Regions from separate parts of the Homo sapiens genome. Here regions 2, 3 and 4 are each linked to region 1. The links are contacts of gene promoters, found by promoter capture Hi-C in blood cells and fetal thymus (Javierre and others, 2016). All regions are on one chromosome and are shown on one strand. Each heading gives the region's core, a stretch centred on a gene start or on the middle of the fragment in contact. The rest is flanking DNA. Distances are from core to core; before and after follow the strand shown.

The links. The method cuts DNA at HindIII sites, captures the fragments that hold promoters and counts their contacts. A CHiCAGO score of 5 or more calls a contact.
Region 2: a fragment that was not itself captured here is called in contact with the fragment with the promoter of B4GALT6 in region 1 in 2 of 17 cell types (erythroblasts and fetal thymus); the score reaches 6.7 in erythroblasts.
Region 3: a fragment that was not itself captured here is called in contact with the fragment with the promoter of B4GALT6 in region 1 in 1 of 17 cell types (erythroblasts); the score reaches 5.1 in erythroblasts.
Region 4: a fragment that was not itself captured here is called in contact with the fragment with the promoter of B4GALT6 in region 1 in 1 of 17 cell types (fetal thymus); the score reaches 6.9 in fetal thymus.

Annotation. Positions count from the first base shown.
Region 1 is chr18:31,683,292-31,685,991 of GRCh38, forward strand. It overlaps B4GALT6 (beta-1,4-galactosyltransferase 6), which reads right to left and starts at 1,290. Exons shown (of 9, transcript NM_004775.5): 1 at 1,021-1,290. The coding sequence starts at 1,135. RefSeq lists a silencer at 1,387-2,426. The HindIII fragment of the contact is 10,803 bases long and covers 1-2,700 here.
Region 2 is chr18:32,022,170-32,024,869 of GRCh38, forward strand. All of the region lies in intron 1 of RNF125 (ring finger protein 125), which reads left to right. Among named protein-coding and RNA genes, the nearest start is that of RNF125, 4.7 kb to the left of the region's middle. The HindIII fragment of the contact is 1,182 bases long and covers 771-1,952 here.
Region 3 is chr18:32,112,668-32,115,367 of GRCh38, forward strand. RNF138 (ring finger protein 138) reads left to right here. Exons shown (of 8, transcript NM_016271.5): 4 at 1,078-1,193. Among named protein-coding and RNA genes, the nearest start is that of RNF138, 22 kb to the left of the region's middle. The HindIII fragment of the contact is 5,185 bases long and covers 1-2,700 here.
Region 4 is chr18:32,075,608-32,078,307 of GRCh38, forward strand. It overlaps a transcript of RNF125 not described here and the pseudogene RPS15AP35. Among named protein-coding and RNA genes, the nearest start is that of RNF138, 15 kb to the right of the region's middle. The HindIII fragment of the contact is 9,029 bases long and covers 1-2,700 here.

The DNA of each region.
Region 1 (2,700 bases), core at 40-2,539:
AAGGGGCATTACATTTTTAGCTAACTCGGAACAAAGAGCACTGGCTCAAACGACCACAGTGTGTAAGGAGAAATGAGAGGAGATGCTCACTGTTACTAAGTAATTGAACATTAAATACGTAATAGCCAGGAAAAACTCAGAAAAGTTTTGGAAATATGACATATTTTAATATGCATGTGAAGTTCATAATTCTCATTCACTAGAATTAACGCCGCATTGGCTCCTTTTCAACAAATGGGGGACGAGGAATTCGGATATTTAATAAAGAAGTTAATTCAAGCAGTTTTACAAAAGTGTATTTTGCACCAAAGGCCAAAAAATGATAAACCGGTTAACATTTTAAACTACAAGTTCCCTTAGATAACGGTTATTTTAATCACTATTTTCTCAGAAGTCATCCTAACAGGTAGCAAAGGCAACGTACCCTTGAAAATAACACCCAAGCAGACTAAAATAATGGAGCATTGTTTTTACAAGACAACTCATCGCCTTAAAATTCCCCAAGTATGGCACAAAAAGAATGGGGTCCACTGACCCCATTCTAAAAAAGCGACCTAGGACCCTAGAAAACACACATTGTTGGACTCAATCACATTCCCTGCTGCTGGCTCCTCCATATTTTTACAACCAGTTATTATACCCGAGAGTGTTTGAATAAAACTACGATTAAGCACTCAGTTTAGGCTTAAAGACTTAACATTAAATGGATAAAGCTGTCATGAACACTCAAGAAAGCGACTAGGGCATCCCGGGCCATCACACTAATTTTGCTACGTCTATTTAATGCAATCTTTTACGTTATTAACAAACATGCATTAACAAAATGCATGCATTAACAAAACTCACATACCAAAGCCATGCCCTGAAGCAGTTTGACACGTCTGAAATAACATTTAAAACAAAACGCTTTTCTGCGGGCCCCTGTTTGAACAGCTTCCAAATCCCAGAAGTAACATCGGATAACAGCCTGCGCTGGCTGTGGTGTGACCAGGGGAAGCGAGGGTGTGTCTCGGTGCTTACCGATGCCTGGGGCCACATAGATGAAGTACAGACAGGACGAAGAGAGGGAGAAGAAGAAGATGAAGGCGAGGAGAGAGCGATTGGAAACCCGCATCATCCGCCTGAGCACAGACATCTTCCTCTTCCCTGCCAGCAGCCCAGGCTGCGCTCTCAGGCCGGACTCGGGGCCACTGTCCAGGCCCTAAACTTCCATAAATGTGCTGAGAACCCCGAGACTGCAGCGGGGTCCGCGCGGGGAGGCTCTGGGGAGAGGGCCCGAGCGGAAAAGAGGAAATGGGAGGGAGCGGACGGAATGAATGGGAGGCCAGAGAGTCGGGGGAGGGGAGGCGCGGAGGCCGAGGGACAAGAGGTGGAGGGGGGAGAGGGGACTGGGGGCTAGGGGCCCGGGGACGGCAGGACGGAAGAAAGCCGGGGAAGGGCGAGGAGGAGCGTTTTCTCCGCCAAGCAGCGGCGGGAGGAGGGGCTGCAGGTGGGAGGAGGCGCAGGCTGCGCGCCGCGGCGCCCCTGCGGAGAGGGGCAGCTAACTGCAGCACGCCCGGCTCCGCTGCCCGCGCCCGGCGGGGTCCCGCCGCGAAGCCCCGTGCTTAAGGTCCGGGCCGCCCGCGTCCGCTCGGCAGGCCCTGCGCCGCCTCCTACTCCGGGCCGCGGCGTCTCCTGCCTGCGCGGGGCTAGCGTGGGCGCCGGGGCCGCAACCAGCGCGCGCCACGCGCGGGGGCCCGCGGGGGCCCTCGGGGCCGAGGAGCTGGGCGCTCGCCTGCACCGAGCCGCCTCCTCATGCCGCGCCGGGCCCCGGCGCCCCGCGGCCGCCGCGGGAGCTGAGCACAGGCCAGGGCGGCGTCCCGGCCAGCGACGAACGCGCTCCGACTCCGGCCGCCGCCAGCTGCCTGCCTGGCCGCAAGGGCGGCAGCGGCATTACCGCCGCGCGCCCGGGGTGAGGCGCCCCCGCCGGGCCCGCGGACACCAGGCGAAGAGCAACCGGGCGACGCGCGCTGCGGGCAGAGCCGGGGAGCCGGAAGAGCAGAGGCCGAGCGCCGTCGGAGCCGCGTCTGGTTGGAGAAAGAGGCGGACGTGAAGGGGCGGGGGAGCCGCGGAGGAAAACCGGGACCGGCGGGAACGTCTCGAGACCCCTGCGCGCTTCGCGCGCTCGCTCGGAACTCGGCAGGCGGCGCTGCGCCGGGCCCCGAGGAAACCTGGAGGTCCCCGCCCTCCCCGCGCCCGAAACACCGCGCGTCCTGATAGGCCCGCGCCCAGCAGCCCCCTCCCCGCGCCCGCCGCACCGGGGCCCCACCGCCTCCTGCGTCACCGCCGCCCCCGCCCGCCCGGGGACCCCGCGGTGACCGCGCTGCTGGGGGTTGAGGGACGCGTTGCGAGCCCCGGATACATTGTACCCTGGGGGTACATAATGAAGGATGCTGTACCTGAAAGGAAAAGGGCATCTCCAAAAGGGGACTTCGCGGGTGGAATTTCCTTCCAAAATCCTCGAGGAACAAGGTGTATTTCCGACCTGGATTAATGAATCCCCCCTCCTATCCCGCACTTCCTGTGGAAACAGTGTCAGGATGTGGCGCGGACCTATGTGCGTCCCTTATACCAGGACTTGCCTTCAACGCTGAAGGTGAACCCTGGGTCATCCTCGCTGTATTCAGGCGGCGCTGCAAAGGCTTCTGGGCAGCCAATAGG
Region 2 (2,700 bases), core at 112-2,611, 340 kb after region 1:
ATTTTCAGACATGTTGAACTAGGTGGTTTATGCTGATTTTTGTTTGTAAACCTATTTCAAGTCAAACAAGTTTAATAATAACAACAGTACCTTGAATGAATATGTAAGAGCACTTTATAAGTTGTATTGTGATGCAGTAGTAACTGGCCCTTACAGAGAGCTGGATTTGAAATTCACCTCTGCCACTAGCCAGATGTGTGACCACTTTAGGGAAATTTGAATTTGATTTTTTTCCCCTAAAGTTTTGATCATTTGAGTCTATGAAACAAACTGCTAATAGATTAACAAGGGGGGAAAAGCTTACAAATGTATTAATGAGCATATGGGCATGGGAGTCATACAAAATATGAAAACTGAGAGAAAGGGCCAGATGCTTGATGCTTTTATACCATCTTGAGGTTACAGCAGAGTAGGGGCTTGGAACATGGTTATGGGAGGGAGAAAGAAAGAAGGGGCTGGGGCAAAGATGGTCTAGTTATGCAGATGAAACTTCATAGATAGCAGCTCCTAGAAAGAATAGGCATGAGCCTGTGTTAAGTTGCTCTGTCAGACCTTCGTAGGTGTCAGACTTTCAGTTAATAATTTCCTAGGTACAGATAAGGGGGTGCCTCCAAGAAAGCCTGGTTGTTTATTTCACCAGTGTAGATTTTCTCTACAGATGCAAGTCTCCTCCACAAAAGGCAGCTTTTCAGGGTTATTCCTGTGGGAATATATCAAAGAAGTACATTTTGGGGTGAAATATTTTCAGTTTCCTTTAGTCCCCCATTTAAAGCTTAATTTTTAAAACATTAAACATTTCCTTTATTTTTATTATTTATTTATTTATTTTTAGCGGTGAGATCTCACTCTGCCACCCAGGCTGCAGTGTAGTGGTGCAATCATGGCTCACTGCAGCCTCCACCTCCTGGGCTCAGCAATCCTCCTGCCTCAGCCTCTCACGTAGCTGGGACTATAAGTGCCTGCCACCATGCCTGGCTATTTTTCACTTATTTGTTTATTTTGAGATGGAGTCTCACTCTGTCACCTAGGCTGGAGGGCAGTGGCGTGATCTCAGCTCGCTGCAACCTCTGCCTCCCAGGTTCAAGTGACTGTCCCGCCTCAGCCACTCTAGTAGCTGGGATTACAGACATGCACCACCACACCTGGCTAGTTTTTGTATTTTTTGTAGAGGCAGGGTTTCGCCATTTTGCCCAGGCTGGTCTTGAACCCCTGAGCTCAGGTGATTTGCCTGCCTCGGCCTCCCAAAGTGCTGGAATTACAGGAGTGAGCCACTGCACCCAGCCAAGAAAGTGACAATTCTTTACATACCGCAAGGTCAGGATTTTGTAAGGGAACCATATACACAGGGTACCAGGCCAATCTTTTTCTAAGTCTGTTGGCTTTTTAATGTCAATTTCAGTCCCTCAAAACAGTTTGATCATGTATCTAAGTATGACATTCCAGTTAAAGCCTTGCTAAAATAACCACTGTCTCCAATTATGTCCTGTTCAGACTGTTACTGAACTTATGCATGTAACTATATTGCCATGAAATAGGAATACTCAAAACCCAGTTTGTGAATCCAAAGAGAAAAAGGTAAATTATTTTGCTCACAAAAGTATACTTGGCCAGGTGCAGTGGCTCATGCCTGTAATCCCAGGACTTTGGAAGGCCGATGCAGGAGGATGGCTTGAGACCAGCAGTTTGTGACTAGCCTGGGCAACATAGTGAGACCCCATCTCTACTACACAAAAGTCTTGTTCAAAAGAGAAAACCATATTTTACTTTTGAATCAGTATATCAATAATAAATTTAAATAAAACCTAATAAACAAGTCCATCCAATTTCAGTCAGCTTTGACCACACAAGATTTACATATCTTTTATAACCTCTTACGATTTTTCTTCTATTTCCAACTTTCTATATTCATTTAGTTTTATCTATATCTTTTTTTATTCTTTCAATTTGAAACAAGCTTCAAATAACTTCTAAACTAGACACAATTCGTTTTCCATTAACAAAAAAATCACACTTCATGCCATTCTTTTTTTTTTTTTTTTCTTTTTTTTTTTAAGATGGAGTCTCACTGTGTCACCCAGGCTGGCGTGCAGTGGCATGATCTTGGCTCATTGCAACCTCTGCCTCCCAGGTTCTCCTGCCTCAGCCTCCTGAGTAGCTGGGATTACAGGCGTGCACCACCACACCCGGCCTCATGCCATTCTTACAACCTTTCTCTCCAAGAACATATCTTGCTTTTTTGGTATATTCTGCCTGAAGAATTGTTTGTCTTATTTCTAGTAGTTTTATTTGTTTGTTTTTAGAGATATGATCTAAGAACAAACTACTCAGTGATGTGATCATAGCCTACTGCAACCTCAAATTCCTGGGCTCAAGCAATCCTCCTACCTCAACCTCCTGAGTAGCTGGAACAACAGGCATGCCCCACCACACCCTGCTAAAATTTTATTTTTTTATAGAGACAGGGTCTGCCTATGTTGCCCAGGCCAATCTTGAATTCCTAGGCTCAAGTGATCCTCCTGCCTTAGCCTCTCAAAGAGCTGGGATTACAGGCATGAGCACTCCCAAACTGCTGGGATTACAGGCATGAGCCACCACACCCAGCCAACTAACAATTTAAAACTAGCTTTATTGCTGGGCACAGTGGCTCACACCTATAATCCCAGCACTTTGGGAGGCCGAGGCAGGCGGATCACTTGAGCC
Region 3 (2,700 bases), core at 3-2,502, 430 kb after region 1:
GCGAAACGCTGTCTAAAAAAAAAGAAGAAGAAAGAAATCACAAAATATTTGGTTAATTTTAAGGAACATGTAGGAAAATCAGGTGTTAACAAATAACCAGCATTAATTCTCTAATCTGGATTTTATTCTATCATTTGGAGAAGGAATAAAATAGAGAGGGGTGGTTAGGCTTTGAGTATATCCATGTGTCTATAGATTTATCACCGACATTTTTTCTAATAGCTAATGAATTCAGTGAGCAAAGCTGGTTGCTATTTCATGCATTCACACAAGTCAGATCTGCTTTTACATCTTTTTGAAGGAAGTGTTTAACTGACAGGGCAATGACGTGAAGCTGGAAAACACACTCGAGAGATTCTGGCTATTCCTCTCAGTGAGAAACTGAAAAATGTTCCAAGTATTCCTGGCAACTTAATTTTTTTTGAGACAGGGTCTCACTTTGTCACCCAGGCTGGAGTACAGTGGCACAATCTCGGCTCACTGCAGCTTTGACTTCCCAGGCTCTAAGCAATCCTCCTGCCTCAGCCCCACAGGTAGCTGAGATTACACCTGGCTAATTTTTGTATTTTTTGTATAAACAGGATTTTGCCATATTGCTCAGGCTGGTCTTGAACCCCTGAACTCAAGCAGTCCACCCATCCCAGCCTCCCAAAAGGCTGGGATTACAAGCGCGAGCCACTGCACCCAGCCAGGAACTTAATTTTTTTTTAAGTGCTTTCTAACTCTGCCAGGCTGCAGAAGTTAAATAATAAGACATGCCCAATAGCATCTGGCATCCTCTTAGTGCTTTTAATTTTTTTGTCTACTGCTGGTAGTGTCTTTTCAAGTGTGAAGTTATTTGCTGTTTTTTGCAGTGAATTTATAGACAGATGGACTCTTCTCCATCTCTACATTTAATGAACAGAAATGTATTATCTATTCTTAACTCCTACTTAAGGATGAAATCATTTACTTTAAAAAAATACAACTCCTGTTTAAATGGAGTATTTAGTTACTTTTATTTTTTCCTCTCTTTACACTATTTCAAATCTTACGAGTTCTATTTTAAATTAAAAGTCACATTTTAATAATTTACAGATTAAATTCTATCGCATGAGACATCATTACAAATCTTGTAAGAAGTATCAGGATGAATATGGTGTTTCTTCTATCATTCCAAACTTTCAGATCTCTCAAGATTCAGTAGGGAACAGGTAAGCAATACTTATTCCTAAATACAGAATTTTCATAATTGAAATGGAAATTGTTTTGGGAACTATATGATAAGGTATTTGGGGGGATGTGTGTGTGTGTATGTGCACATGTGTTTTTAAAGTGAATTGCCAAGTATCAGAACTACAGCATTTGCCTTAAAATCTGTTTGGCACACGTAAGCTCTCATCTGGGAGATGACTTCATGAACTTCAGCTTATGTTATTTAAAATCATTCTAAGAATTTTCATTTTTTTGAGTAAAAAATAAGTTGGAGATTTTTCTCTTACTGATTTTGCAACTGAAATGATTTGAAAAACTATAGAAAATCCTTTTCAGTAATGTATTTGCAAACTACAACCTGTTTTTTCTTTGCTATCTAAGGGATAGACTTAGAGTTTGAAATTTTTATTCTAAAATGTCATGTAAAAATGAAACCAGGTGCAGTGCAGTTCTGTTTGAGTCTCATTTCTTTTAAACAACTAGATTTGGATTGATTTGTATCTTATCTCAGATTCATGTACATTAAACATTTTTATGAAATGTATTTTACACAGAAAAATGGCCAAAATGCACTTGTGGTTTAAAAAAATAATGATTAACATCCAGTTACCTATTAACCCAGGTCAAGAAAGAACATTTTTCAAAACTTCAGGATCTCTATGTGAGCTCCTGCCCATTTGAACCGTACACTCCTAGATGCAACCACTATTCTCTTATTTGGATTATTCATTCCTTTGATTTTCTTTATGTATCATCACCCATGCATGTATCCCTAAACAATGCATTGTTAATTTTGAAAACTTCAGTAGTAAGCACATACGTAACTGTAAGGAAAGACAATATTGCCACTATTATAGAAAGGTTCCCAGGAGACAGTATGTTAAGCAGTCTCTAATATTTTATTTTAGTAGCCTTTCATTTTACATATTGCTAATTTTTAGTAACTTAACCGCCCTTAAGCACTTCATGTTGATCATACTACATTAGGCGTCTTCCCTACTCAGTTGAAATTTCTGGTAAAAACCTTTAGTGATTGTCTGGTAAAGATCTGCAGTAATTTTCTGATTGCCTAGTCTGAAAAAACTTCAGGTTCTCATTTTACTTGACTTGTTAGTGTCAAGGAAATTTGTTTGAAAGTTGTTGCTCTTATAGTTTTTTTTTAGTCCTTCTGGGTTTCTTCATTTCTATGTTTTTCTTATTGTTGTACTTCTACTTTATTGTAATTTCCTATCTGCTTTTTTACCCAATAGATTGTTCTTAAGTGAGGGGATGGTGTTTGTCTTGTTGAGCATATCTCCAGCTTTTAGTAAAGTTCTTAGTATACATGATTGTAATCACGCTTTTAATGACCAAATTTTCTTATCAGGAGACAGGCCTTCCTCCCCCTTATTTCTTAGATCCACTTGGTCATAGACACTTGATTCCTAATAGCAATATTCCTCATCTGTACTTTTATTTTATCTTGTCACTTCCCTAGCTCAGGCCCTCATCATCTCTCACTCGAAC
Region 4 (2,700 bases), core at 113-2,612, 390 kb after region 1:
GCTTGAACCTGGGAGGTGGAGGTTGCAGTGAGCCGAAATTGTGCCATTGCACTCTAGCCTGGGCAACAAGAGCTAAACTCCATCTCAAAAAAAAAAAAAAAAAAAGGTCCATTCCTCATACAGCAGTTGGAGAGATCTTTAAAAGCATCAATCTGATTGTGCCATGCCACCTTTTCACTGCTTAAAATGCTCCCAGGGCCTCCATTGTTTTCTTTGTTGTTGTTGTTTGTGTGTGTATGTCCACGAGTCATTTTATTTGTAAATATATATTACATCTCTAGAAAAGAATCCTAGGATTTTCCCTCCTGTGTGTTTTCGTCTTTGCTTCTTCATGGTCCATGATGCCAGCTGAGGTTGTCAGTACAATGAAACCAAACTGGCAGGATGGGAGCAGATTATTCTGCCATTTTTCTAGATCTTTGAGTTGCACGTCAAATCTGGGGCTAATCACTCTACACTTGTTTAGCCTGCCTGTGAGGTTCACAATCTTCCCAGCTCTGATCATCAATGATTTCAGACTCGCCAATGTAACCATGCTTCATTATCACAGTTAGAAACCGGATGATGACTTTGGAGCATGGCCCAATAAGAACCTGGTGTTTGCCTCTCTTTTTGGCATTGTTGATGCTCTTGAGAGCATCAGCCAGGACATTTATGCGCACCATTGTGGTGACATGGAAAGATTGTGGAAAGAGGTTTTTTTTGGTTGTTTTTTTGTTTTTTTTTTGAAACAGGGTCTCACTCTGTCTTCCAGGCTGAGTGCAGTGGTATGATTACAGCTCACTGCAACCTCGACCTTTTGGGCTTGAGCCATCCTCCCACCTCACCCTCCCTAGTAGCTGGGATCATAGACATGCACTACCATGCTGGGCTAATTTGTAAAATTTTTGTAGAAATGGAGGTCTCACTATGTTGCCCAGGTTGGTCTCTTGGACTCCAGCCATTCTCTTGCTTTGGCTTCTCAAAGTGTTGAGATTACAGGTGTGAGCCAACACGCCCGGCCTCCATTATTATGAGAATAAATTCTAAAGGCCTTTCCATGCCCTTCAATGAAAGCCCTTCACAACCTGGTCCCTGCCCACTCTCCAACTTCATCTCACTCCACTCTCTCCCTTGATCCTTATACTTCGGCCACACTGTTAGGTTTATTAAACACACCAAACTTACAGTGGGTCCTGCATCTTGGCACTTTCTATTCCTTCTGTTTGAAAAGCTCTTCGCTGGGAGTTTGACATGACTGCCTTCTAAATCATTCAACTGTCAGCTCAAATGTCATCTTCTCATAAAGGAATTACCTTGTAATTCCAGCCAAAGTCACTCCTCCACCAAATCTGTCTATTGTTTTACTGTAATGTCTCCATAACTGTACTAGAATGAGAAGTTATCTTATACATTTATTTTCATTTTTATTGGTTATTTCCTCTCTCTAGAATATAAATTTTGGATTGCAAGTATTCACCACTAAATTCTCCAAAATCTAAAACAATGGCACATGTCAAGTACTTAGTAAATATTTCAGCTGTCTAATCTATCATGAGACCTACTGATGATATATACACATATACATCATCAGTGTGTGATGATAACACACATATAAAACATCCAGCATGAAGTAGAAGGATTGCTTGGCCCAGGAGTTCAGGAATTTGAGGCTATAGTGCACTATGATAGTGCCTGTGAATAGCCACTGCATTCCAGCCTGGGCGACATAGCAACCCCTCTCCCCATTTTTTTTTTTTTTTTTTTTTTTGAGACATGTAATCCCAACACTTAAGACGGAGTCTTGCTCTGTTGCCCAGGCTAGAGTGCAGTGGTGTGATCTCAGCTCAATGCAACCTCTGCCTCCCGGGTTCAAGCGATTCTCCTACCTCAGCCTCCTGAGTAGCTGGGATTACAGGCATGTATCACTACGCTCAGCTAATTTTTGTATTTTAGCAGAGGCAGTGTTTCACCTTGTTGGCCAGGCTGGTCTCGAACTCCTGACCTCAAGTGATCCGCCCACCTCGGCCTCCCAAATTGCTGGGATTACAGGTGTGAGCCACCTCGCCGGGCCGTAAAACCCCATTTTTGAAAGAAGAAAAAAATCATAATATTACCAGTAATCAAAGACATTAACTTGACCACTCTAGTCATGTACCATTTTTCTCTCTTAGCATAATGTCTGGCATAGTGTAACCTCTAATAATTTTTTTTTTTTTTAGAGACATGGTTTCACCCTCTCACCCAGGCTGGAGTGCAGTGGTGTGACATGGCTCACTGCAGCCTTGACCTCCCAGGTCCAAGTGATCCTCCTACCTCAGCCTCCTGAGTAGCTGGGACTATAGGCACACACCACCACATCTAGCTAATTTTTAAAATTTTTTGTAGAGACAGGGTCTCACTATGTTGCCTAAGCTGGCTGCAAACTCCTGGGCTCAAGTGACCCTCCCACCTCAGCCTCCCAAAGTGCTGAGATTACAGGCGTGAGCTACCAGGCCCAGCCTCCAATAAATATTTTTTGATTCAGTCTATTAGCAAAATTTCTCAATTAATAATCCCCCATGAAAGGATGATATGGTGAAACTGGCATATTGTGCTGGTGATAGCGGTATAACTTACACATTTCAAAGCAAGTTGATAGTAATATCTTACCTCTTGGCCCAGTAATTCTACATCTGGAAATATTTCCTGGCACTCTAATCCAAAATGGAATCTATATGC